5 separate regions of the Homo sapiens genome follow, and regions 2, 3, 4 and 5 are each linked to region 1. The links are contacts of gene promoters, found by promoter capture Hi-C in blood cells and fetal thymus (Javierre and others, 2016). All regions are on one chromosome and are shown on one strand. Each heading gives the region's core, a stretch centred on a gene start or on the middle of the fragment in contact. The rest is flanking DNA. Distances are from core to core; before and after follow the strand shown.

Region 1 (2,598 bases), core at 43-2,542:
AGTCCTGGGTTGGAGCCTGAACTAAGCCTGGGCTACTTCTAGCCCTGGAAGGTGCAGGGGAGATCTGAGACCCTGCCACACCAGGGTCTTGGTCCTGGGCCCAGGGAGGGGCTCTCACCCCAGCAGGGCCTGGTGCCTGTGGTCTGGTTGTAATGCTGGGGTCTCTGCAGCAGCAAGGCCTGCAACTGCCCTCTCAGCTCTGGGCTCAGCGACTCCACCCTGGTCACCTGCTCTGGAGAATGGATTGGGGGTCATCTCCTTCCTGAGAGTTCCCTGCCGCACACTCTTCCCCTTCTCCCTCTGCCCAGACACCTTTCCCTTCTGGGAGTCTCAGAATGCCAGGGCCAATGAACTTGCTCCTCCACCCTGCTTTTCCATGTCCACCCTGTGACAAGGGTAGACAATCCTAGGAGGGGTAGGGATGGGCTCTGGAAGATTTCAAGACTTTGGAGGGGAAATCCTGGGGAAAAGGCATGGCTACCCAGGCCCTTCCTGCAAAGGATCCCAGCCTACCCACGAGCTCCAGGAGGCTCTGAGCTGGGCAGTCCAGCAGTACAAGGCCCTCGGCCAGCAGGCTGCGGAGCTTCTGGAGGCTGGGCAGTGCCAGGGTGGGCACGTGGGGGGCACTCCACCGGCCTGCAGCCACCTCCAACTTCTCCTCAAACAGTACCCACCTGTGATGAAGGTGGGTAGACAGTGTTATTGAGGGCATTTCTCCCATGTCCAGGAGCAGAGATGCAGAGGAGCTAGGGAAGGCAAGGCAATGAGGGCATCCTGGGCCCAGTGGTGTGAAGTCTCCCCCCCACCCTGGCAGTCACCCCTCATCTAGGGTCTTGGGGATCTCAAAACTAGACTGCAGAGGAGGCTGGGCATCATGGAAGGTAAGACCCTGAAATAAGGGAACACAGCTGGGAAAATCCTAATTTTGGGCAGCCCCATAAGAAGCGCTGGGGGACATATAGGAGGCTCCAGCTGGGGAAGGGGAAGGATCCCACAGAACTGGCCTGCATCCAACTTACCTGCCTGTCTCTCTCCACTCCAGCGCCTGGGGCCAGCCCAGCAGCTCATTCAGCTGAATGAAGAGCAGAGGGTCTTTGGGTACTCCCAGTTCCTTGCTCTCTGTGTCTGAGGGGCCATCAGGGCTGGGGCCGGTGCCAGGGTCAGGGTTGCTGTCCAGCTCCCCTGAAGGAATATTTCTAGGAGCACTGGAGGCTTCAAACCCTTCCTGGCCTGGCAGCTTCATTTCCATGAGGCTTGCACAGAATCTCAGAACCAGTACAGTCCTAGGTTCTGAAGCCAGGGGCCCTCTGGCTGGTTGCATTTATAATGCATCCCCCACTGCAGCACAACACAAACAGAACAAGGCCTGCTGACTCCAGACTCTACCGGTCACCTACTCCCCTACTTGCTTACCCCACCCCCTGCTGGCATAAGAGTATTTGTAAGACTAGTCTGGCCTTTCCCAGGCTCTCCAGAAATGCCCAACCTGGGGCCAAAATGTGTATGTGCATTTCCTGTGGTATCAGGTCTGATCCCACTGTGTTTTGTGTAAAGAAACAGGAGTAAATGATTGGCTTGGGTCTGAGGACTTGGTACCCCCAGATTTTGCTGCCCCCCTCACTTGTATCAAATATAAATACCAAACACCCAGGACTGTTTTGGGTGTCACCAACACACCCCTGGGGCCACAGACACACCTATTTGGACAAACAGGGACCTAATAAATAATTGAGTCCATGGAAGCCAGACAGGGTAAGGGAGATAGCAGGCAGAGGACCTGCCCATTAAATGGGATAATGGTGGAAGACCTAGTGTCTGAGTCTTAAATTCTTTTCTTTTCTTTTTTTTTGAGACAGGGTCTCACTCTCTCACCCAGTCTGGAGTGTAGTGGCACAGTTATAGCTCACTGCACCTTTGACCTCCTAGCTCAAGTGATCCTCCCACCTCAGCCTCCAAGGTAGTTGGGACTACAGGTGCACGCCACCATGCCCAGCTAAGTCTTTTATTTTATTTTATTTTATTTTTGAGACGGAGTCTCGCTCTGTCGCCCAGGCTGGAGTGCAGTGGTGTGATCTCAGCTCACTGCAACCTTCACCTCTTGGGTTCAAGTGATTCTCCTGCCTCAGCCTCCCAAGTAGCTGAGATTACAGACATGTGCCACCAGGCCTGGCTGATTTTTATATTTTTAGTAGAGACAGGGTTTCACCATGTTGGCCAGGCTGGTCTCAAAAACTCCTGACCTCAGGTGATCCATCCGCCTCAGCCTCCCAAAGTGCTAGGATTACAAGCGTAAGCCACTGTGCCTGGCTGCCCAGCTAACGAGTCTTAAATTCTTTTGTCCAACAACACTTAGGAATTCCCTAATTTAGCTGTGTCCCTGGGATCTGCCCTGTGAGGATGGAGGAGCCCACTAGGGGGTGTAAGTGAAGGAGTTCCTGGAGCTAAATGAGCAAAGGAAAATGTGGTCCATTATTTGCAAATCCTGTTGACTCTATCTTCAAAATATACCCATAATCCAACCACATCTCCCCACCTCCAGCACTGCTACCCTGATTCAAACAACCATCATTTCTCACCTGAATTATTTCAGTAGCTTCC
Region 2 (2,598 bases), core at 52-2,551, 380 kb before region 1:
TCTGCTTATTTCCTTTTGTGTCTATGTAAGTAATAAACTGTCTGAATCAAACAAGGACTGCTGTTTCTTTACTAATCAAAGCTGCTAGGATTTGCCTGAGAATGGGTTCTTATTTTTCCTTGAAGTTCTGTTTCAAAATAGTTTCTTTTTCAAACCTTGTCAACTTGTCTTGGCAACCAGGGATTTGGTTCATATCTGGGAGAGATGACAGTAGTGAGAAGCTGCTCAGAGGAACTGTGGGGATCTGGAAATTTGGTGAAGAGCAGATTTACTCATGGAGTAGGTCTCAAAAGACTCTTACCAAGGCTAACCTCCAGAGTTTCTGTCCCAACCTTAAACCTCTTCAGCTCCTGACCCAGCCTAGTCTTCTCAGGAATCCATGCCGTTTTAGACCCCTCCTTGAAAAAGGGCTCTCTCCCATCTCCAAGAAAATGATAAGCTTGGTGGGGACATACATAGAGGACTAAAGAGGGTCCATGGACATCAAACCTGCCCCCAAAACACAGACAGGAAGAAGCATGCAAATATATCACTGAGATAATGCAGAAAGTAGATTGAATTTGGAGTTCCTTGACAGATAAGTGTCATGAGTTGGTATACCCTGGGCAGTAGGGTCAGCCTAGGCCTGAATGGTTCAAGAACGATGCTGAGTTTTAAGTTTCCTTCTACCCACCACAACTTCCAGACCAGGACACACAAACTTGGGAAGCCCCCATTTGAGGATGCACACCACTGAGAGAAACCCATGTCTTCCTTTCCCTAAAAACTGTTCCCCCAGCTGTGTCTAGGCTCACTCTCCCTCCTCCCACTCAGTGGCTACCTGCCACAAGTCTTGGACCAGCCTCAGTGCTTCCCAGATGACCAAACCGGGGTCATTTTAGCTCAAATCAACTTTCACAGCCAGTACATGAGTCAGACCCATGAAATCCTCCCAAACTGCCAAATGCCAGCCTTGGGTCTTTAAAGCTACCAGAGCTTCATTGTTACCTGGTTACTAGGTAATAACCCACAACAATTACTCCTCTCTGGATCTGGGCCTAAACATTCTGGTATCTTATAGCTCTTTTGTATTAATACTTTCTCTGATTACCTGAAATGATATACCACATAGAAAACTGTACTAAGAGTTATTGAAGAATGTGCAAAAAATTAACAAGAGGTCCAAGGAAAACTAAGCACATGAAGAAAAGTCAAGCATTAACTTCAGGAAAAGTAGAAAGAAGAAAAGGAGACAATCATGGTATATGACCATGTTCTGCTGGGAATTATATTTTGCAAAGGCATAAAAATGTTAACATGAATATTCATCTAACAAAGAATTGTTAGGGCCAGGCACAGTGGCTCACACCTATAATCCCAACACTTTGGGAGGCCGAGGTAGGAGGATGGCTTGAGCCCAGGAGTTCGAGATCATCCCATGCAACACAGTGAGACCTCATCGCGACTAAAAATAAAAAATTAGCTGGGCGTGTGGTATGTGCCTGTGGTCCCAGATTCTTGAGAGGTTGAGGCAGGAGGATCGCTTGAGCCCAGGAGGTGGAAGCTGCAGTGAGCCATGATCGCACCACTGCATTCCAGCCTGGGTGAGAGAGCAAGAGCCTGTCTCAATAAAAGAAAAAGAAAGAAAAGAAAAATTAAGTCATTTCAATCATATACAAACTATCCTAATTAATAAGAAGGAACACTTCCTAAATGATTTTCTAATGCTAAAATAACCTGATAGTGAATCCTATTGTAAAAAATACACACAAAAAAGGAAAAGCCCAGTCTAATGTCATTAATGTAAATAAATGAAAAAAAACCCATACTAATTATTAGAAAATTAAATCCAGTAGTACATAAAAAAGAATAATACAGCATAAGTAGAATTTCTCCAAGATATGAGGTTGACTTAACATTATAAAAGTAATTAGTATATATGCAAAGTTAATGAACTAAAGGGAAAATCATGATTATCTATGTACATGCAGAAAAATTACTTAATAAAATTCAACAACCTTTCATGATTTTAAAATAATCTTAATTAATCTTAAGATTTTTAGCAGATATTAGTTGTATCCTTAGGCATATAAGAGAATATTTGTAACTTGGTAAGGGTGTCCAGGGGAAAAAAAAAAAGCTAAAGCAAACATCATACTTAATGGTGAAATGATTAAAGCTTTCCCTTTGAAATCCAGAACAAGACAGGGATGTCTGCTATCATCACTTTAATCATCCTGTCGTCATTGTTCCAAAGGGCCTAACCAGTGTATACAACAAGAGAAAAATATAAAGGTCTGAGGTGTTCATATGGCATTCTCCATGGTTAGAAAAAGAAGGGGAAAAGTATAAGGAGGTTATTCCGTAGGATTTTGGGGAACAGGTGGTATTTGGTTACGTGAGTAAGTTCTTTAGTGGTGATTTGTGAGATATTGGTGTACCCGTCACCAGAGCAGTATACATTGAACTCAATTTGTAGTCTTTTATCCCTCACCCACTTCCCACCCTACACCCCTGAGTCCCCAAAGTGCACTGTATCATTCTTATGCCTTTGCAGCCTCATAGCTTAGCTCCCACTTATGAGTGAGAAGATACACCTTCTTATATGAAACTTTTTTA
Region 3 (2,598 bases), core at 71-2,570, 350 kb before region 1:
GGGCGTGGTGGCAGGCGCCTGTAATCCCAGCTACTCGGGAGGCTGAGGCAGCAGAATGGCATGAACCAGGAAGGTGGAGCTTGCAGTGAGCCGAGATAGCGCCACTGCACTTCAGCCTGGGCAACAGAGCGACTGTCTCAAAAAAGACCTGAAAGCAGCTTCTCTTTGAGATTTCTGAGTTATCTGGGATTGCTGTGGGCTCTTGAATTTCCATTCCATTTACTTTTCCAAGATGCCACCCTGAGCACCTCCAGACACTCCATGACTTAGGTCCCTTTGAGACTCAAACCACTTAACCAGTCCCAAGAGTTTAAAGATTCTTAAATTCAGAATTGCTTTTTAGATGCAACCAGAGGTAAGATCCCACTGTACCAAAAAGGGAAAGACATTCTTTGAAGCTAAATTGAACTAGATGGTTTCCTGAAGAATGAAGCCAGGGGTGGTGGCTCATGCCTGTAATCCTAGCACTTGGGGAGGCCGAGGAGGGCTATCACTTGAGGTCAGGAGTTCAAGACCAGCTGGCCAACACGGTGAAACGCCATCTCTTCTAAAAATACAAAAAAATTAGCTGGGGATAGTGGCGGCCACCTGTAATCCCAGCTATTCAGGACGCTGAGGCAGGAGAATCACTTGAACCTGGGAGGTGGAGGTTGCAGTGAGCTGAGATCGTGCCACCGTACTCTAACCTGAGTGACAGTGACACTCTCAAAAAAAAAAAAAAAAAAAAAAAAAAACTGAACCATGGAAGGAACTCACAAACCTCCAGCCTGCCTTGAAAGGGGTAACAAAATACCTAGTCAACAAGAAGACTGTCACCCAAGGGACCTGAAGTGCACATAATCCTGCCAAGGAAAGCACGCACCAATCTGCCCCCAGTTGCCCAGTACTTACTGTATCTAAAACTGAGCCAGGCCTTCAGCCCATAGGTGAAGATACATTCAGTGTTCCCAGTGGCAAGATTCAGCATCAGAAATTAGACAAAGGGCATGTCTTACAGTAAGGGAATTTTGTACAAAAGTCCAAAGGGAGGTGTATGGTGCTTTGTGGTTCAGATAATACAGAAAGTTGAGGAGCTTGATGGGGCAGAGAATGAAAACCAGCTATATGGTGGCAGCCTTGTTAACCCAAACAGATTCATTTACAGGTCCATTTTTTCAGGGTATAGAACCAGCAAGTTACAGGCTTCATCTGCTTGAAGTTAATGTGACTGTAGTTCTTCGTGTATGTATGGCTATTTTTTTCTTCTGCATCCCCTTGACTTGGCATAGTACTTGATCCAGTGGATATCAAAGTTTTGTGAGTTTCTGTTTTGAGTTTGCCAGTCTGTGCCATCTAATTCTCAAATCAGACCAAGGTAGGGAAGACAGCTAGCTTCTTCTTAGTGGTCTTCAATGTGGGTAGGGAGGGATTTTGCCTTTCTCAGAGGCATAGACATTTTTAGTTGTCACAATTGTGGAAGAGGGTGCTACTGGCATCTAGCAGGTAGAGTCCAGGGATGAAGTTAATCCTAAATCAAAATCAAAATAATAAACATCCTACAATGCCAGCATTGGTTTCTACAACAAATGATAATCTGGCCCAAAATCTCAACAGTGCCAAAATTAAGTAATTCTGTGTCTAGCAGACAGTAAGAAAAACACTAAGGGCCAGGTGCAGTGGCTCACGCCTGTAATCCCAGCACTTTGGGAGGCCGAGGCAGGTGGATCACCTGAGGTCAGGGGTTTGAGACCAGCCTAGCCAACATGGTGAAACCCCATCTCTACTAAAAATACAATATTAGCCACTTGAAGCCAGGAGGCGGAGGTTGCAGTGAGCCAAGATTACGCCACTGCACTCCAGACTGGGCGATAGAGCAAGACTGTCTCAAAAAAAAGAAAAAAAAAAAAGAAAAAACATTATGTTCAATCCTGAGCTCTGCTGTTCCAAAAACAAAAGATCAAAGGAGTCTGAAATGATAGGAATCGTTTTGGTTCAGACTTCTCTGGACATAGATCCCTTATCAGACGAAAACATAACTCATGCTAAAAAAAAACCTAGGCAAAAATAAGATTTAAAATGGAAGAATAAAATACTCTATATGGAAATCCTCAGCATGAGAAGGAAAAACAAATATTCACAGGGAAGATTATGGAATGTTCTCACCAAATGTAAAACAGGCCCAGTCAATGCCATTTATTATACATGTCAAACAGCTTCTAAGACCGACGGGCTCCCATAATAAGGTTTTGGGGATTTTTTGTTTTGTTTTTCATTTTCTTTTTTGCATCAAACAGGTTCTTCCAAAAGCCTGCTCACAAGGTAGACAAAAACATAAATCTTCAGGAAAATGAAACATGAGAAGCTGAAACAATCTACACCTGAATGTTAAAAAACTCATCAGACACAAACCACACCAAACACTCATCCCATTTAATTTCCTGTTACATGCTCTGAGGAAGCCAAGAACATCAGGCCCCAGGGCAGCAATGCTCTAGGATTCCAGCTCGGACCCCCTCTATATGACAGATTCATGCACACACATCCACACACCATAGAACCAGGCAGAAATACACATGCATGCACAGGTGGCTAGAGAACCATAGGGCAGGATGGGAAAAA
Region 4 (2,598 bases), core at 65-2,564, 330 kb before region 1:
GGCACATGCCACCACGCCCGGCTAATTTTTGTATTTTTAGTAGATACGGGGTTTCGCCATACAGGTCAGGCTGGTCTCAAACTCCTGACCTCAGGTGATCCACCCCCCTTGGCCTCCCAAAGTGATGGGATTACAGGCATGAGCCACTGTGCCCGGACAAAAAAATAATAATTTTTAATAAGGTAGCACTGGTTATCAGGTTTAGAGAGAGGAAAACTGTAACTTGAAGACAAGGGAACCAGCTCAAGGACACAGAACAAGCCTGTGGAATGATAAGATATGGATTTCTTGAATGAGCTAAAAAACTCAGACTGATAAGATGCTGTGATTGAATATCAATAAAAGATCTGTGCCCTATTGTTCACGATAGCACAAAGCATCTGCTAAGAGAGCATTAGAATCTTTCCGAAGTAAGGCAAAACTTAATCAGTGACATTACCAGCACGCTGTATGCCCTTCCAAAAATAGAGGATGTGGTGGTTCCATACTATGGCGATTATCTGCCCTAAGAGAAGTCCAAGTTCAAGTACACAATCCCTTATCTGCAATTCCAAAATCCAAAACTCTCTGACATCTGAAAATGTTTTTCTGAGATTCATTTTGAGGTAAATTCTAAGATGAACTCAGTCTACTTCTGATCTTTAGTCATCTCATTTACTAGGAATATTCATATATTTCGCTTAAAAATGTTACTGTTTGAGTCCAAGAGTTTCAGGAAAAAGTGTGGATATGAATTAAAATACTCCCTTACTACATATCCGTGTATAAGTCATTCATTTAATCTTGCAGCCTCCGTTTCCTCAACTGCAGAATGGAAATCAAAACTCCAACCTCTCAAGATTGCTCCAAGGATTAAATGACCAGGCATCCAAATCGCTTAGTTCAGTGTCAGTACATAGTGGGCACTCGATAAAAACCGATTGTAACACTACTGGAATACAGGCCGCGAGGCTATGCGTTCAGATCTGGAGACCCTGCTGGGACAGACCAGAGATAATTCTGTCTCGCTCACCTGGCTTTGGCAACGGACCGCCCCGGTGCACGAAGCGCAGGGCGGTCGCAGGAGCTGGCTGAGCAGCGAAGCCCAGGCCCTCCTGGGAAGAAGTCCGAGCAGGGGCATCGCGCGGCAGGACGCCGGCTTTCCGGGACAGGAACAAAAGGCCTGGGAAGGAGGCGGGTCAGACACCAGGAAGGGTGGAGGGCACTGCAAAGGCGGAACCCGCGCACCAGGGAAAACTCGGGCGTTTGCGCACCTCACTAGTCACGAAGGCTGAGGTGGGATCCTCCCAAGTTCCCTTAGTAGCCAGCTTCGGCACTTCCGGGAGGAGCCGGAAATAATTTTTGTGCTCGGCGGAGGCTCTCTAGGCGTGCGACCCAGCGACTCGATAGCCGGAAGTCATCCTTGCTGAGGCTGGGGCAACCACCGCAGGTCGAGACAGCAGGCGGCTCAAGTGGACAGCCGGGATGGCAGAGCGTGCGGCGCTGGAGGAGCTGGTGAAACTTCAGGGAGAGCGCGTGCGAGGCCTCAAGCAGCAGAAGGCCAGCGCCGAGCTGGTGAGATTTAGGCAGCAGGGGAGAGGGCCAAGGCAAAGCCTGGGAGGACGTAAAGCCAGGGTGTTCGGGACATAGGGTAGAGATGTGAGGGAAGCGACCAGTCTTGTAGGGAGGAGAGTGGGCTGCGTGGGGAGACATCCGGGGTGGGTCCCGAGAGAAACAAAGCTAGGCCTGAGCAGAGAGATGTGATGAGGGAGGAATATTGAATGAATGGCGGGGGAGGGAGGAGAGTGACAGATGGATAGCTCAGCGCCTTCTTTCCCTCCACAGATCGAGGAGGAGGTGGCGAAACTCCTGAAACTGAAGGCACAGCTGGGTCCTGATGAAAGCAAACAGAAATTTGTGCTCAAAACCCCCAAGGTAATATCATTCCTGTAGGGAGCCACTGAGAAAGTCTCTAACTCTACTCACGGGGCGCTTATGTCTGCCTCCCTAAACCAGGTCATTGAGGAGGATCTGAAATGCTGCAGAGGAGAGGACAGTCGCTCTGGGCGCTGGGCTGGACTGGACTCTACCTGAGTCATTCTGGGATGGCAAAGTGATGGCAGAAACTAGGCCAGCTGGGTGATCAGGGGAGTCAGCCTGCTGCTGCTACTCCTTCGTTCATTCAATAAATGTGTATTTAGCGCTATGTCTCTAGCACTATACAAAGCACTGAATATATACCATGGTGGACAATATAGCCTACCCTCATGGAGCTTACATTCTACTGAAGGAGAGAGACTTAGAACAAATAATCCCACACAGATTTTTTTGTTTTTTTTTTAAACAGAGTATCCTCTGTTGCACAGGCTGGAGTGCAGTGGCACATCTTGGCTCACTGCAGCCGCTGCCTCCTGGGTTCAAGCGATTCTCCTGCTTCAGCCTCCTGAGTAGCTGGGACTACAGGTGCCCACCACCATGCCCAGCTAATTTTTGTATTTTTAGTAGAGACGGGGTTTCACCATATTGGCCAGGATGGTCTTGAACTTCTGACCTCAAGTGATCTGCCCGCCTCAGTCTCCCAAAGTGCTGGGATTACAGACGTGTGCCACCGCACCCGGC
Region 5 (2,551 bases), core at 52-2,551, 320 kb before region 1:
TTCACAGATTTCTACCCCATTATATGTAAGTTTTATGGATCTTTAATCCATAATCTTTCTGCACTCAATCCTCTGCTCTGGGTCTCTACTTCCTTCAGGGCTGTCACAAACCTGGGCTGGTGTATCCAAGACTTAGATCTTCCTCATGATACGGAATACTTAACATTTTACTGCCTTGTGCCAGGCACTGTGCTTGGTGCTTTTCATGCATTATCAAAATATAATTGTTACTACAGCCCTGTGAGAGTAGCTAATTTTATTAATTGCATTTTCCAGATGAGAACACTGAAGCATTATAGATCAAATAATTTGCTTAAGGCCATGAAACTTGTAAGTGGTAGGGTCAGAATTTGAATCCAGGCAGTCTGACTCCAAAGTCTTGCCACTAACCACACTGCAATACTGTCTCTAAATGGGAAGCATGTGTCTGAGGCCCTGGGATCCCTCAGATGGCTACCGTGACTCTCTAGCACCTAGAGTAACACCAAGGAAGCCTCTTGTAGCCTCAAGCCCTCCTTTGTTGCTGCTGGTCTTAAGTGGCTGGTTGCATTTCATCTTCTGGGAAATGCTCTGGCAACCTCCCCACAGTCCTATGCCTTTTCTCTAGGGTGGAAACCACCCATTTCCCAGTTGAGATCATTTTTCCAGTAGGCATCTTACATTCTAAGAACTATGAAAATAGTTTTCCTGAAAAAGACAAGGGAAGCAGCAGCAGCATTCTCCTTTCCCCACACCCATATACACGCCTGTGCCCTGTAACTGAAGTGTGAGAGGCACAGTGTCATAAATGGGTAGATAGTAAGTGGGGACTAAAACTGTCAAGGGTGATCTAATTGGGGTGGGCTCATAGTAGTACTTCTGTGTGAATGCTTTGGTGGACCCTTAAGGTACTACATGGACCAGCCTGGGCAACATGATGAGACCCTGTCTCTACAGATTAAAAAAAAAAATTTTTTTTTTTTTTTAAATTAGCTGAGTATGGTGGTGTGTGCCTGTAGTCAGGAGGCTGAGGTGGGAGGATCACTTGAGCTTGGGAGGTCGAAGCTGCAGTGATCACACCACGGCACTTCAGCCTGGATGACAGAGACCCTGTCTCAAAAAAAAAAAAAAGGTACTACATGGAGATAAGCTTGAAGTTACTGTAAAAAAGCTACCTTTACTCTTGCCCTAAGTTATTTATTCTGATACGTCCTATGTACAAGTCAGTCAGTTCAGTCCTCATATCTACTAAAAGCTACCTTTATGCCCAAGGTGCTAGATGAGAAGACAGGGCCCCTGCCCTGGTAGAGCTGAGTTGGGCCTGGTCTCAAAATCCCGACTAGAGCCTGCTTTGTTTGCTCCTTGAAGGTGTTAGCCCAGCTCTCTTTTATCTGCCCCTTCCCCAGGCTTTGGAGGAGAAGATACGGACCACGGAGACACAGGTGCTTGTGGCATCTGCACAGAAGAAGCTGCTAGAGGAAAGACTAAAGCTTGTCTCAGAACTGTGGGATGCTGGGATCAAGGTATGGGAGGCAAGCCCCAGGGTGGCAGCAAACTTAGGTGTGCTGGACACAAACTGAATAAAAGCTCACCCATAATGGATCCTGCCATTACTTCTCAAAAGTAGAGCTAAGAACAGGGTGCCAGCTTGGACACCCTCTGTCCCTGAGGACAGCAGAAGCCAGCCTTCATCTTCTGCTCTTGTCCCCTGCAGGCTGAGCTGCTGTACAAGAAGAACCCAAAGCTACTGAACCAGTTACAGTACTGTGAGGAGGCAGGCATCCCACTGGTGGCTATCATCGGCGAGCAGGAACTCAAGGATGGGGTCATCAAGCTCCGTTCAGTGACGAGCAGGGAAGAGGTGAGGGAGGTGGGCAGGAAGGCTAAGGGACAGAGAATGTATGCCATTTTGGCAGGCCCATGCCCATTCAAGACCTGAGAAAAAGCCTGGCATTGATATTAGTACAACTCATAAAAGCCTTGAGGGCTTAACCTGTTACTGTGGTCTTAGTAGGGTGAGATCTCCATCCCTGCATATACCTTATGGTTTGTTGGCTCCCCCAAGAGGCACACTCTAGCCTGAGGTGTTTAATTAGGTTCCTGCTCCCAGCTGAGACAAGCCTGATGCCTAGAGGGCTAGAGGAAACTAGGCACTCGGGGAGCAGTGGAATGGAAGATGCTTATACCACCTTCTTCTCCCATCCTGGCCAGGTGGATGTCCGAAGAGAAGACCTTGTGGAGGAAATCAAAAGGAGAACAGGCCAGCCCCTCTGCATCTGCTGAACTGAACAAACTATCAGAGGAAAGGAAGTGGGACTGGCACTATTTGAGGTTAAGACAAACTGCATATGTACTTCAATTGCTTTGCACTTTTCCGTTTCAGCGGAAGACCTGAAGAGTGGTCAGAACAGAGCCTTTGATTTTTATTATGGTTATTTTATTGATTATTACTGGCAAAAACGGCCAGGTACAACACCTTTTTCATACAAGGCCCAGGAGGCTTAGTCCAGTCTGTGCTCCTGGGCTACAAGGACCCAGCCTGAGATGGTCCCATCTGCAGGGCCCCGCACCA

Evidence for each region. The method cuts DNA at HindIII sites, captures the fragments that hold promoters and counts their contacts. A CHiCAGO score of 5 or more calls a contact.
Region 2: a contact is called between a fragment that was not itself captured here and the fragment with the promoter of SLC4A9 in region 1, in 3 of 17 cell types (total CD8 T cells, naive CD8 T cells and total CD4 T cells). The highest score is 6.4, in total CD8 T cells.
Region 3: a contact is called between a fragment that was not itself captured here and the fragment with the promoter of SLC4A9 in region 1, in 11 of 17 cell types (non-activated CD4 T cells, fetal thymus, naive CD4 T cells and 8 more). The highest score is 9.3, in non-activated CD4 T cells.
Region 4: the fragment with the promoter of HARS2 here is called in contact with the fragment with the promoter of SLC4A9 in region 1 in 1 of 17 cell types (naive CD4 T cells); the score reaches 5.2 in naive CD4 T cells.
Region 5: a contact is called between a fragment that was not itself captured here and the fragment with the promoter of SLC4A9 in region 1, in 1 of 17 cell types (erythroblasts). The highest score is 5.6, in erythroblasts.

Annotation. Positions count from the first base shown.
Region 1 is chr5:140,358,888-140,361,485 of GRCh38, reverse strand. SLC4A9 (solute carrier family 4 member 9) reads right to left here and starts at 1,292. Exons shown (of 22, transcript NM_031467.3): 1 at 1,020-1,292; 2 at 514-674; 3 at 119-232. The coding sequence starts at 1,249. The HindIII fragment of the contact is 10,887 bases long and covers 1-2,598 here.
Region 2 is chr5:140,739,412-140,742,009 of GRCh38, reverse strand. The region is part of intron 3 of LOC105378198 (a long non-coding RNA gene); the gene reads right to left. Among named protein-coding and RNA genes, the nearest start is that of ZMAT2, 40 kb to the right of the region's middle. The HindIII fragment of the contact is 1,719 bases long and covers 442-2,160 here.
Region 3 is chr5:140,706,214-140,708,811 of GRCh38, reverse strand. ZMAT2 (zinc finger matrin-type 2) reads right to left here. Exons shown (of 6, transcript NM_144723.3): 6 at 2,126-2,598. Among named protein-coding and RNA genes, the nearest start is that of ZMAT2, 7.1 kb to the right of the region's middle. The HindIII fragment of the contact is 9,003 bases long and covers 1-2,598 here.
Region 4 is chr5:140,690,171-140,692,768 of GRCh38, reverse strand. It overlaps HARS2 (histidyl-tRNA synthetase 2, mitochondrial), which reads right to left and starts at 1,314. Exons shown (of 13, transcript NM_012208.4): 1 at 1,013-1,314. The coding sequence starts at 1,120. HARS1 (histidyl-tRNA synthetase 1) reads left to right here and starts at 1,399. Exons shown (of 13, transcript NM_002109.6): 1 at 1,399-1,554; 2 at 1,825-1,914. The coding sequence starts at 1,465. RefSeq lists enhancers at 1,063-1,132, 1,213-1,302, 1,463-1,692 and promoters at 964-1,280, 1,345-1,371, 1,343-1,464, 1,014-1,464. The HindIII fragment of the contact is 4,332 bases long and covers 1-2,598 here.
Region 5 is chr5:140,673,968-140,676,518 of GRCh38, reverse strand. HARS1 (histidyl-tRNA synthetase 1) reads left to right here. Exons shown (of 13, transcript NM_002109.6): 11 at 1,386-1,502; 12 at 1,694-1,840; 13 at 2,191-2,551. The coding sequence ends at 2,262. Among named protein-coding and RNA genes, the nearest start is that of DND1, 1.7 kb to the right of the region's middle. RefSeq lists an enhancer at 2,478-2,551. The HindIII fragment of the contact is 340 bases long and covers 1,132-1,471 here.